Regions from separate parts of the Homo sapiens genome. Here region 1 is linked to region 2. Evidence: promoter capture Hi-C in 16 types of primary human blood cells and fetal thymus (Javierre and others, 2016). All regions are on one chromosome and are shown on one strand. Each heading gives the region's core, a stretch centred on a gene start or on the middle of the fragment in contact. The rest is flanking DNA. Distances are from core to core; before and after follow the strand shown.

Region 1 (6,964 bases), core at 3,968-6,467, 430 kb after region 2:
TTATAATCATATCCACTTCCCTGTTTCCCCATCACTAATTCTGCCAACCACTGTCTCCATTGTTAAAGTTCCGTCATTACAAAATTGCTGTATAAATGAGGTCATATGTTACAACCTTTTGGTATTTTTTTTTCTTTTTCTCAGCATCTCAGCATAATTCTCTGGGGATTCATTTGTTGTTGTGAGCATAAATTGTTTATTCCTTTTTTTGCTGAATAGTACTCCATGATATTGTTATACCACATTTACCTGTTGAACACCTGGGCTGTTTCTTGTTTTGGACTGTGGCATAATAATAAATTGCATTTGGTCTTTGACCCTGACTTCTGGCACAGAATTCCTAAACTGCATGGAATTTCTCAAGTGAGAAGGCCATAGGTTTATGTTTTGTTATTCATAAGAAGCTCCTTTCAACCATACCTGAGTTTATGCTAATGAGATAATTCTTGATGAGGCCCTAGATAGCTTTAGGAGAGGGAGGGGCTAGTTGCCAGAAAGACCAAGCCTTGATTAGAGGGTTGGAATACTCAACTTCTTCCCCCAACCTCCAGGGAGGGGAGAGAGCCCCAATCACCAATGGCCAGTGATTTGATCAATCATACCCATGTAATTAAACCTTCTTAACAACTCCTAAACAATAAGGAGTTTCAGAGAGCTTCCAGGTTGGTGAACACATTGAGTTGCTGGGAAGGTGGCATGTCTGAAGGGGACATGGAAGCTCCTTGCATCCCCCTCTTTCTCATAACTCTCCCTATGCACCTCTTCCATTTGGATTCTCCTGAGTTATACCTTCAATAGTAAATCAGTAAGAGTAAGTAAGCAAAGTGCTTAACTGAGTTCTATATTATTCTAGTAAATTATTGAACCTGGTAGGGAGGGGAGGCATCATGGCAACACTTGAATTTGTAGTTGGCTGGGCAAAAATCTGGGACATCTGGGCACTTAGTTTGTGACTGATGCATGATGTTTGTCAGTTTTATGGGACTGAGCCCTTAACCTGTGGAGTCTGATGCTAACTCCAGCAGATAGTGTGAGAATTAATTAGAATTGTGAGACATCAGTAGTGTCAGAGAATTGGTGTTGAAAAAGATACTACATATTTTTTGTCAGGAGGAGAAAGAACCATTCATTGGCTATTATGAATAAAACTCCTGTGAACATTCCTGTACTGATTTATATGTATATATATTTCAACATAAGTTAACATTTCTCTAGGGTAAATGCTCAGGAGTGCAGTTGGCTGGACTGTATGGTAAGTGTATATTTAGTTTTTTTAGTAACTTCAAAAATATTTTTGCAACTGGCTGTACTGTTTTATATTTCCATCAGTAAAGTATTAGTGATGTAGTTTCTCTTCATTCTCACCAGTATTTGATGTTGTCACTATTTTTTATTTCACCCATTCTGATGGATAGTGATAATGTAGTATTATTTATTATGATTAGATTTTCAGCTCATCTTTATTATTGTGTTCTACAGAATCACCAGCTTATTATTTGGACTACATATGCAGAATTTTCTGTTGCTACCAGTTCATATTTTCACTGAGGTAGCCTGTTGCCCTTCCAAAGATTGCCAGTATTTACAAACATTTCTTGTAAGACTGGGTGATAATATTAATGAATGTGTTTTTTGATACTATGTAATGAAATATATCAATATTTGGAAAACCTATACAACCCAGTGAATCAGTATTTTTTAAATGACCAGTGCCTGATGTTACAAAATCACGTGAAATATTCATTTGAAGTATAACATAGACTAATGGGTTTTAATGTAACAAGGTACAAAAAATTTACTGATGTGGTTTCAGATTTCACATTGTAACTTTAAGAAAGTATCATTTGTCACATTCTAAAATTATACCAAAGAATATTTATATAAAATTATCTGAAAAGTCTTTGAAAATACTTTTTAGTTTTCCAGTTACATGTATTGTGAGGCTGAGTTTTCTTCATATACTTTAACCAAAACTGCGCATTGCCATAGGTTGAATGCAGAGGCTACAGAATCCAGATGTCTTCTGTTAAGACGACATTAAAGAGACTTTCACAAATGTAAAACAAACTATTTTAACTATTTGTTTTTTATTTGTATAAAATATACTGTTTAACTTGTAGTGGGTTCATTGTTAATTTTAAATGAATTAATTATTTTCAAGGTTCTCAGTTTTAGTTTTTTTTTCCGACTTTCTTGAGGTATAATTTTAAAAAGTATATACCTAAGGTATAGAATGAGATGTTTTGATATATATACACATTGTGAAATGATTATTAAAATTGTGCTAATTAACATATTCATCAACTCACATAGTTGCCTTTTTTTTTTTTTTTGGTGAGAAAACTTAAGATCTACCCGGTATGGTGGCTCATACCTGTAATCCCAACACCTTGGGAGGCTGAGGCAGGTGGATTGCTTGAGCCCAGGAGTTCCTGACCAACCTGAGCAACATGGTGAAATCCCATCTTTACAACAAATGTGAAAAAAATTAGCTGGGCATGGTGGCTTATGCTTGTGGTCCCAGCTACTTGAGAGGCTGACATGGGAGGATCACCTGAGCCTGGGAGGTTGAGGCTGCAGTGAGTCATGATTGCACCACTGCACTCCAGCCTGGGCAACAGAGTGAGACCCTGTCTCACAAAAAAAAAAAAAAAAAAAAAAGAAAATCTAAGGTCTACTGTCTTAGCAAATTTAAATTATACAATATAATAATGTTATTAACTATAGTTACCATGTTGTACATGTTCTTTTATAGTTCTCTGTGGTTCTTTTGTAGCTCTCTACATTTCTTTTGGATGATTATTTTGAAATCTTTTTCAGACAGTTCGTAGATCTTCATTTCTTTAGGGCTGGCTACTGGAGCTTTATTTTGTTCCTTGGGTGGGGGGATTATGGTTTTCCTGTTTATTTGTGATCCTTCTGGCTTTGGTTTGGTAGTTGTGCATTTGAAGATGTAGGTACCTCTTCCAGTCTTTACAGGCTGGCTTTGGCAGGGAAAGCCCATCACCCAGTCAGCCTACTCAGAATCTCTGAACAGGCTGATTGGTCGAGTGCATAGGTTGGCTTTCTTCTGAAGTCCTTGGGTAGGCTGGCCTGGTCCCTGGGTCAGCAGGTAGGCATTCCTAGCACCTGGGTTTATAGGATCAGTCCTGTTGCCTGGGTGTGTGGGCCTGGATTCTGGGGTCATGGGGATCAGCCTGGTAAAAGGATCTACTGGGTTGGGCTGGCAATGGGGTCTGCAGGAGCAGGCCTGAAGCTTGGATCCACAATGACTAACTGGCAATGGGGCAGTCTTGGCGTCTCTTTCCATGGAGGTGAGCCTGGTGCCTGGTACCATGTGGCTGGGCCTAGAACCTGTTTCTGTGGGGACTTGCCTGGCACCAGGTTCTATTGGGCAGGCCTGAAGCCTGGGGCTTTGGGGGCCATCCTGGCACTGGAGCTTGCCTTAAGCCTGGTCCTGCAGGGGCAGGCCTGGAGCCTTAGGTCACTGGCTGTCCTTGTGTTGGATTTGGCCTGGAGCTTAGGTACATGGCGGCTGGCCTGGCACCAAAATTCACTGGGGAGGCCTGGGGCTGGGGTCCCCAGTGAAGTAGGGTGCTCATATCATTCTCGTTTTCCTCCAGCGAGGGTCTCTCTTGTGAGCTTGGGGGAAGGGAATCATGGATAATGTGAAGCCGTCTTTCATACCCCCTTTAATGTATATTTTCTTATTTCTGCATTCTACCTAGGTGCTGTGATCTCTTACCTGGATTCCTTAGTTCTTTTGAATATATTTTTGTACTTGGATGTTTGTTCAAACTGATGTTTCTGTGAAGGGATGTGTGTTGGAAACTCCTATTCTGCCATCTTGCTGACATCGCTCCTCAGTTTTAATATCTAAAATAGCACATACTAATATATATATAATTCATATAAGCAAAAGCTCTTTAGGGTACTCAGTAATTTTTATTTTTCCTCTTTTCTTTCTTTTTTAGAGATATGGTCTCACCATGTTGCCCAGGCTGGGCTTGAATTCCTGGCCTGAAGCGATCCTTCCACCTTGGCCTCACAAAATGTTGAGATTACAGATGTGAGCTACCACATCCAGGCTCTCAGTAATTTTTAATAATGTAAAGTAGTCTTTTGTCCATAAATTTGGCTGCTTGTTTAGATAAAAAGAAACTGAAGAGACATGACCACAAAATGTAATTCATGATCTTAGACTGGATACTTTCCAGTAGGAAATGAAAATGCTCTAAAGAGCATTATTGGGATAATCTTCAAAATTGGAATTTGGACTGTGGGTTAGATATAATTGTATCAATGTAAATTTCTTGAATTTCATAATGGTACTATCATTATGTAAGAGAGAGGAGGTACAGACTATAGTTTTACAGGCATGATATATGAAGCCTACTTACAAATGGTTTAGAAAAATAAGCATGCATATATATGTAGGGAGAGAATGATAAAACAAATATGGCAAAAATTAGTGAACTCTGCATAAAGGCTATACAAGAGTTCTGTGCAATGTGAAATTATTTCAAAATAAAAATTACAACAATTATAAAGAATATAATGAATATCTTAGAAGCAATTTTTACAAATTAATTGGCGAGTGTTTTATTGTGCTTGTGATGAGTATGAAATGTTTTCAGCAGTTGAAGACACTTCTGGTTATGTAATAACTTTGTAGTTGTCACCACTTTTCAGAGGATACTCTTTATGCTCTGCTGCCCCCTAGTGACTTTATGCTCATCAGCAATTGTTTCTTCCAAGTGTAGTAAGTTGGAAATGAAGAGCACTATAATCATTATTTAAAAACAACTTAGTGTCAAGTCAAATAATTTTTCTGGGGGCGAGGGGGAAGACACTACCATGAAGCCATATCTAATGGCTTCCTTTTTTTCTTTGAATTTTTAAAAAATTGTATTTTTGTTCTTGTGGTTCCTTTGTATTGCATCCTCAGTTCTCTCTGTCTCTCTCTGAAGGTAATATTTACTGATTTCTCACCCAAGGGCAACAATGAAACTTAACTTGTGTACTCTTCTGTTATTCTTTCCTCTTAGCATTAAATATCAGGGAATAGTATTATCTTAGTGCTTTACTTTGTAGTCAAGCATACTTGATTTGGCCCATAATCTCTCATTTGTAATCCCCAAATCCTAAAGGCTCTAAAAACTATTTGTTGTCAAAATCTGCCTTAATTCATTTGGCAAGAAAACCTGATGTGAATTGACTTAATATATTAATAATCTTTATATTTACCACTTTTGTGAATATTCCTATATTTTACTGCTGAAATATGAATGTGTTTGATTATGGAATGCTTAAGATCTTACTGGGATGTTACATAATATGTGACAGATGAGCTGTATTTTTTTTAAATGTACAGAATTTGGTATTATGAAACATTTTGCTACAAGGATTTTCGATTAGGGATTGTAGACCTGTAGTTGATTTGCCTAGCTTTGGCTCACAGTTACTGGTATAAGATAGTTGACTAGTTTATTCTACTTTCTATCTTCTCTCTTTTTTTTCTTAGTTGTATAATTTTTATGTACTATTTTTATGTATCATACTTGATCACTTTTAATCTGACCTTGTTTTTGTCTTAGAGTTGCAGTTAAATATATTCAGTCTTCATTGACATTCTTTTTTATTGAAGTTTTCCCTGTCATCTAGTTGGGTTTGTGTTCCTCCTCTAGTAGTTGCCTTAAGAAGGACTTATGTGAACAACAATTTTTGAGTTATTGTATATTCAAATTTTAGCTCTATAGACTTTATATTTAAAGGCTAGCTTGGTTGAAATTAAAGTTCTTGGCTCATGTTTTGTTTCCTTGAGTATCTTGTCTTCTGGTGTTCAATGTTGCTGTGGAGAAGTCTGATACTTGCTGGTTTTTCTTTTTCCCTAAGTGCTTATTCTTGATTCTTATTATTTTTGGCTGTCTATTGACTCTTCTTCTTTCTATTTTATTTTATTTTATTTTTGAGATGGAGTCTTGCTCTGTCGCCCAGGCTGGAGTGCAGTGGCACGATCTCGGCTCACTGCAACCTCCACCTCCTGAGTTCAAGCAATTCTCCTGTCTCAGCCTCTCGAGTAGCTGGGATTACAGGCACGTGTCACCACACCCGGCTAATTTTTGTATTTTTAGTAGAGACAGAGTTTTGCCATGTTGGCCAGGCTGGTCTCGAATTCCTGACCTCAGGTGATCTGCCCGCCTTGGCCTCCCAAAGTGCTGGGATTACAGGTGTGAGCCACTGGGCCTGGCCCTTCCTTTTTTAGTTATTAGACATTACTCAAAGAATTTCAGCATGTATCCTTGACTCAGAGTATAATATAAATTAATATTTTTATCACTTCCTTGACACTGCTAGGAATATGTAACACTTTTTCATTTATCCTTTCCTACATCTTACACTGTTGTCATGAATTTTAATTTTACATGTAATTTTGTTCCCACACAACATTATCCTTATTATTTCGTAGAGTCACCATTCATGTATGTTTACTCTTTTGTTTGATTCTTCATTTCCTCCTCCATCTCTGTGCTTCATTCTGAGGTCACTTTTCCTTTTGTATGCAGAACTCCCTTTAGCATTTCTTTTAGTGAAGGACTCATTTATTTTGTTTGTATGAATAATGTCTGTATTTCACCTTATTTTAAAATTGCAGTAAAATATACATAACATATACTTTACCATTTTAACCATTTTTAAGTGTACAGTTCAGTGGCATTAAGTATATTCACATTTTTCTGTAGCCAAAACTGCCACCTATCTCCAGAACTTGTCTAATCCCAAGTAGCTGGGACTATAGGCACATGCCACTGTGCCTGGCTAATTTTTTTTTGTAGAGACAGGGTTTAGCTTTGTTGCCCAGGCTGGTCTTGACCTCCTGGCTTCAAGCAATATTCTTGCCTCAGCCTCCTAAGGTGCTGGGATTACAGGTGTGAACTACCACGGCTGGCCAAGTATAGTTTTC
Region 2 (6,807 bases), core at 1,417-3,916:
GCACCCAGCCAGGGCTAATTTCCTCAATAGAAAAGAGCATCTACAAATAGATTGTTTTAAATAACCAACTATACATATGGGCAAAATACAAGAACAGTAGTTCACAGAAAAAGAAATACATCACGAGGTCAGGAGATCAAGACCATCCTGGCTAACATGGTGAAACCCCGTCTCTACTAAAAATACAAAAAATTAGCCAGGTGTGGCGGCATGTGCCTGCAGTACCAGCTACTCGGGAGGCTGAGGCAGGAGAATGGCGTGAACCCGGGAGGCGGAGCTTGCAGTGAGCCGAGATTGCACCACTGCACTCCAGCCTAAGGACAGAGCAAGACTCCGCCTCAAAAAAAAAAAATAAAAAAATAAAAAAAATTAGCCGGGCATGGTGCTGGGGCTTGTAATTCCAGCCACTCCAGAGGCTAAGGCAGGAGAATCACTTGAGACCGGAAGGAGGAGGTTGTAGTGAGCAGAGATAGCGCCACTGCACTCCAGCCTGGGAGACAGAGTGAGACTCCGTCTCAAAACAAAACAAAACAGAACAAAAGAAAACAACTAACTTGAAAATGAGGCAACTGTAACATGAAGTAGTAAACTGTAATTCAGACCTCAGGTGTGTGAAGAGCTCAGAGAAAGGTGACTGGGAGTGATGGGCACAGCTCCCAGATCCAGTGGTATTGAATTTAGATGGGGCTGCGAGTCCAAGGGTTAATGCACTGCTGAAATGGGGTGAGGAAATGCAGGATTGGGGTGGGTGCCACGGAGTAGGAACCCGGCAAGACTGTGTTACAACTATCTTTGTATGGGTTGATAAGGCTTGGACTAACTTTGCTCCTGTTTTCTTCGTGGGGACATGGGGAAACATGAACCTGGCAACCAAAAATGGCAAAAGCACGTGTAGGTGGATGTTTAATGCTAGAAGGCAAAGTTCCCTCTATAGTTACTTTTTTTTGTTGATTTGTTTGTTTGAGACGGAGTCTCACTCTGTTGCCCAGGCTAGAGTGCAGTGGCGCAATCTCGGCTTAATGCAACCTCAACCTCCCGGGTTCAAGTGATTCTCCTGCTTTAGCCTCCTGAGTAGCTGGGATTACAAGCGCGCGCCACCACGCCCTCCTAATTTTTTGTCTTTTTTTTTTTTTTTTTTTTTGAGACGGAGTTTCGCTCTGTCGCCCAGGCTGGAGTGCAGTGGCGCGATCTCGACTCACTGCAAGCTCCGCCTCCCGGGTTCACGCCATTCTCCTGCCTCAGCCTCCTGTGTAGCTGGGACTACAGGCACGCGCCACCATGCCCGGCTAATTTTTGTATTTTTAGTAGAGACGGGGTTTCACCGTGTTAGCCAGGATGGTCTCGATCTCCTGACCTCGTGATCCGCCCGTCTCGGCCTCCCAAAGTGCTGGGATTACAGGCGTGAGCCACCGCGCCCGGCCAATTTTTTGTCTTTTAAGTAAAGATGTGGTTTCACCATGTTGGCCAGGCTGGCCTTGAACTCCTGACTTCAGGTGATCCACCCGCCTCGGTCTTCCAAAGTGCTGAAATTACAGGCGTGAGCCACCGCGCCCAACCTTACAATTACTTTCTCATGAGATTTAAGTGCCTGGCCCTTAAGCACTACTTAAGAGCATTGCATGCACGCAGGCTCAGAGCGAAGTGTGTAGCTCAAGTTCACAGACGTGAGCAGTGGAGGCGGTAGTGGGGTGTGAGCCTTGACCAGCTCCTAACAGCTCCTCGCTCAACAGCACCGCCCGGAGCGTCCACTTCCCCCTACCCCGTAAAAAAAAAAAACAGGGCCATTGGTTCGGGTCGAGAGCCGCTTTGGGAAGCGTCTCTGTCACTAAGCGCTACCCCGGGGTGTGCGAGGGAGTCAAGGGACGCGGAGACCGGGAGCAGGGCTGGGTCCCCTTGCAGCCCCAGCGCTGGCCTCCTGCCCACCGCATTCAGGCGCTGCGCCGCCCTCACACCCACCCTCTCCCACCTCAGCAGCGTGCGGGGGAAGCCTCGCGCCGGGGTCTTTTTCAGCAAGACTGTCGCGGTCCTCGGCTTCAACTGCAAGGTAAACGGTGGCAGAGCCCCTTCCCACTCCAGCCGTGTGTGATTCTCACACTCAGTGCCCTCTCCTGCACTGGGGCGCCGGCAGTGGCGACCTAGGCTCTCCAGCCCCCGCCCAGTCCCCCGCGTGCGGGCGCCGGGACCGCAGTACCTGTGACGCCGAAGCCCAGCAGGCCGCAGACGGGAGCCACGCGCGGCCCTGGCACAGGGTAAAAACCTACGCTCAGGTAGGCGGGCAGCCACGATGTCGGGCAAGCCCAGGGCAGACCCCCGGTGGCGCACAGGGAAGCAGCGGTCCAGAAGGCCGGGTGGACGCAGGCGGAGCCCGACGGCTGGGAGGCCGCCGGCGCGCAGGGGTCGGGCCTCGCCAGGATGGCCTCGACCGAGAAAGGGGACTCGAAGCGTCCGGGAGCGCGGGGCGTGTTCGGGCCAGTAGGGGACCTGGGCGCCGGAGAGCGGCCAGAGCGCGGAGGTCGGACCCGAGAGCCCGAGGGAGCGGGTGGCGGGCTGCCTCGCGGCCTGGGGCTAGGCATGACGCGGCCGTTGCCCGGACGGACGCAAGGAAGGGAGCTCGGGAGAAGTGAGAAGATTCTGCAAAAGGCAGCGAGCAAGACCGGTTGTCTGGGAACCTCCTGGCGCTCGGCGAAGGCTCTTAAATTTGGCGGGGCGGGGCATGGGGCGGCCTCTCCCCACTGCGGTCCGGGCGGGGCCCCCAAAGCCTGTGAGCGCCCGCTCTGTGCGAGGCAAGGTGGGCACAGCACCAAAGAGTGTGTTCCCTCCCTTCCTCCGCTTTTAAAAATGCCCACCCTGGGGCGGTCGTGGGGAGGACTCTGAGCTCGCTGGTGATCCTGGGCGAAACACCCAGCCACCGGGCTCCGTCTTTCTCCTTTGCTCACTGAAGAAGGGATGCCCGTTTCCCCGGGGCCTTGCAGAGGCGGAGCTGTGATCTGGAGAGCGGTAGGGCAGTGCCTGCGGTCTTGGCCTCAGCTGACCCGCGCCGTCCTTGACGCAGAAGCCTCGGCCAGATTCACCTAGGACCGCGCGGACTTTTTGTTTGTTTGTTTTAAAATGTAAATATTTTATTTATAAGCACAGTGATAAGTACATTTTCCATCTGGCCTCAGCCCTTTAGTTTCCCTGCCTTGAGATGCGCTGTGATTACCAATTTCGTTCTTTCTTTAATATTTTTTTTGGCCAGGTGCAGTGGCTCATGCCTGGCATCCCAGTACTTGTGTGGGAGGCCGAGGCGGGAGGATCGCTTGAGCTCAGGATTTGATTTGATTTGATTTGAGTTGATTTAGGGGTAAAAGATATGGCCACTATGTCTCTAACCTTGGACTTTTAGTATATAATTCTGTGTTTCCATACATAATTATCAGTTTTCTGTTGTGTCATTTATTCCTTCTTCAGACTGTAAATTCCTGAGCATAAGCATTAATATCTCCAATTTACATATTAGTAAATACAGCAAGAGAGGTTAACAGAACTGCCTTGTTTCAAATCCCCTAGGTATGTGGTTTTAATTTGCATTTATTTCCCTGAAGACCGTTCATTGTGAGCATCTTTTTACATGCTTATCAGCCACTTGGATATCCTCTTTTGTGTGAAGTGCCTGTTCAACTGGTTTGCTTATTTTTGTATTGGGTCACTATGTTTTTCTTATTGTAAGAGTTTTATGTATAGATAATTTGGAATCAAGTCCTTCGTTGTAATATACATAGAAGCAGATAACCTCTGTCACTCTGTGGCCTGCCTTTTCATTCTTTTAGTAGTCCTTTTTTTTTTTTTTTCTGAGATGGAGTTGCCCAGGCTAGAGTGCAGTGGCACAATCTTGGCTCACTGCAACCTTTGCCTCCCAGGTTCCAGCGATTTTCCTGCTTCAGTAGCTGGGATTACAGGCATGTGCCACCACACCCAGCTAATTTTTGTTAAGTATACCAAAAATAAAGCCAAACGAATAACAGACTTTATTTTTATTCATTTATTTATTTATTTAGAGATGGAGTTTCACTCTTGTTGCCCAGGCTGGAGTGCAATGGCACTCGGCTCACTGCAACCTCTGCCTCCTGGGTTCAAGCGATTCTCCTGCCCCAGCCTCCTGAGTAGCTGGGATTACAGGCACCCGCCACCATGCCCAGCTAATTTTTTGTATTTTTAGTAGAGATGGGGTTTCACCATGTTGTCCAGGCTGGTCTTGAACTCCTGACCTCAGGTGATCCACCCGCCTTGGCCTCCCAAAGTGCTGGGATTACAGGCGTAAGCCACCGCACCCAGCCCTACAACAGACTTTAAAAAGACCACTGAGATGGGTTAGTACATGAACTAGGCACTTTATAAAAGGAAATATCTGAATAGCTTAAAACCATATGTGGCTGGGCGCGGTGGCCCATGCCTGTAATCCCAGCACTTTGGGAGGCCAAGGCGGGCAGATCACTTGAGGTCAGGAGTTTGAGACCAGCCTGGCTAACATGGTGAAACCCCATCTCTACTAAAAATACAAAAACTAGCTGGGTGTTGTGGTGGGTGCCTGTAATCTCAGCTACTCGGAGGCTGAGGCAGGAGAATTGCTTGAACCTGGGAGGCGGAGGTTGCAGTGAGCCAAGACTGCACCACTGCACTCCAGCCTGGGCGAAAGAGCGAGACTCTGTCTCAAAAAAAAAAAAAGTATGAAACATACTGAACTCTGTGAGTCATCAGGGAAATGCAAATTCAAATCACATCGTGATCCACTATACACGCACCAGAAGATGGAAAATACCAAGGGCTGGCTGGGCACGGTGGCTCACACCTGTAAATCCCAGCACTTTAGGAGGCCAAGGCAGGTGTGAGGCTGAGGCGGGTGGATCACTTGAGGTCAGGAGTTCGAGACCAGCCTGACCAACATCGTGAAACCCCATCTCTACTAAAAATACAAAATTAGCCAGGTGTGGTGGTGCACACCTATAATCCCAGCTACCTGGGAGGCTGAGTCAGGAGAATCGCTTGAGCCTGGGAGGCGGAGGTTGTAGTGAGCCATTGCACTCCAGCCTGGGCAACAAGAGCAAAACTCTGTCTCAAAAAAAAAAAAAAAAAGAAAAAGAAAAAGAAAAAGAAAAAGAAAATACCGAGGGTTGATGATAATATGAAGCATCTGGAACTCTTATCCACTGAGTGTGGGCATATAAATTGGTAGAAACACTTTCGAAAAATGGATAAGCAGTATTTACTTAAGCTTAACCCTCTGATCCAGCAGTTCCTATCCTAGGTATAGTGTATACCCAACACAAATATACATATGTGTTTAACAAGAGACATGTTTCAGAATGTTCACAGCAGCATTATTTGCAATAGCCCCAAATCAGAAACTACCAGAATGTCTACCAACAGTAGAATAAAGTTGCGCCACTGCACTCCAGCCTGGGTGACAGAGTGAGACTCTTGTCTCAAAAAAATAAAAAAATAAAAAAACAAGGCAAACTTATCTATGCTACTAGAAGTCAGGAGAATGCTTGGGGGTGGTTAATGAGTGGCAAAGGGCATGACGGGAACTTCTGTGGTGGTAGCAGTGTTCTATTTATTTTCTTTTTTTTTGAGATTGAATTTCACTATTGTTGCCCAGACTGGAGTGCAGTAGCATGATCTTGGCTCATTGCAACCTCTGCCTCCCAGTTCAAACGATTCTCCTGCCTCAGCCTCCCAAGTAGCTGGGATTACAGGCATGTGCCACCATGCCGAGCAAATTTTGTATTTTTAATAGAGACAGGGTTTCACCATGTTGGTCAGGCTGGCTGGTCTCAAACTCCTGACCTTGGGTGATCCACCCGCCTCAGCCTCCCAAAGTGCTGGGATTACAGATGTGAGCCACCGTGCCCGGCCAGTGTTCTATTTCTTCATCTGGATGCTGGTTACACAGATCTTTATACTTTGTGAAAATTCAGTGCCCACTTGTTCCTGGTCTGGACCATTATCAGTCCTTCCTTTATTTAGTTGTAGTTTTGCTATTGATTTTAATCACAGGATATGGAAATACCATGTTGTTCCCATTATCCCCCTGACAGTCAGGATCAGTCACCCAGAGAGTCTGATAATACTCTTCAGTGCCTATTGATTCACTGGTGAGAGAAGCCCAAGTAGCCAGCGACAGTCTTAACTGCCAGTTCAGTGAAACCACTGCTGTGTCTCATGTGGAAATAGTTCACTCTTGGGAACTCTAGTATCTCTAGATCAGCAGAGCACAAAGTTACCGAGATAGGAAGCAAAAATTTTGCTAGAGAAACACTATGTGTTATATTGAGGAGATCTGTTCTCATTTCTACCCTCTGACCCACAAATCCTGGTTTGGGATTTCTCCCAGCACCATATGTTGGTTGCCGGTTTAGAGCACATCTTGCATCTGAAGGACATTACCCATGCCCTGCAACATGTTACTATCCAGCTAGTGCCATAATTAAGTCTTCAAAAGGTCATCCTACTGTTCTTTCAAGCCAGCTGCTTCAGGGTAATGGTAAGACCAGTGAATACCATGAGCCTGAGCCCATTGCTGTTCTTTACTTGCTGTGAAATAATTCTTTTGTCAGAAGCAATGCTATATGGAATGCCAAAGCATTCTATAAGTTCAGAGATGTTGATTTTGGCAGAAGCATTGTGGGCAGAGAAAGCAAATCTATGTCACAGTAAATGGATATTCCAGTAAGAACAAAGTAATGCCCCTATGTGATTACCCTGGCACTAGGTGGCTAGTTGGTTTTCATATTGGGGGCTCAGTGTTGGTCTCTGCTGTTGGCAGGT

What was found. The method cuts DNA at HindIII sites, captures the fragments that hold promoters and counts their contacts. A CHiCAGO score of 5 or more calls a contact.
Region 1: a fragment that was not itself captured here is called in contact with the fragment with the promoter of NOTO in region 2 in 1 of 17 cell types (M2 macrophages); the score reaches 5.6 in M2 macrophages.

The regions. Positions count from the first base shown.
Region 1 is chr2:72,768,818-72,775,781 of GRCh38, reverse strand. The region is part of intron 1 of EXOC6B (exocyst complex component 6B); the gene reads left to right. Among named protein-coding and RNA genes, the nearest start is that of EXOC6B, 54 kb to the left of the region's middle. RefSeq lists enhancers at 2,897-3,396, 3,397-3,898. The HindIII fragment of the contact is 3,917 bases long and covers 3,259-6,964 here.
Region 2 is chr2:73,198,433-73,205,239 of GRCh38, reverse strand. It overlaps NOTO (notochord homeobox), which reads right to left and starts at 2,666. Exons shown (of 3, transcript NM_001134462.2): 1 at 2,192-2,666. The coding sequence starts at 2,573. RefSeq lists an enhancer at 1,272-1,823. The HindIII fragment of the contact is 10,291 bases long and covers 1-5,253 here.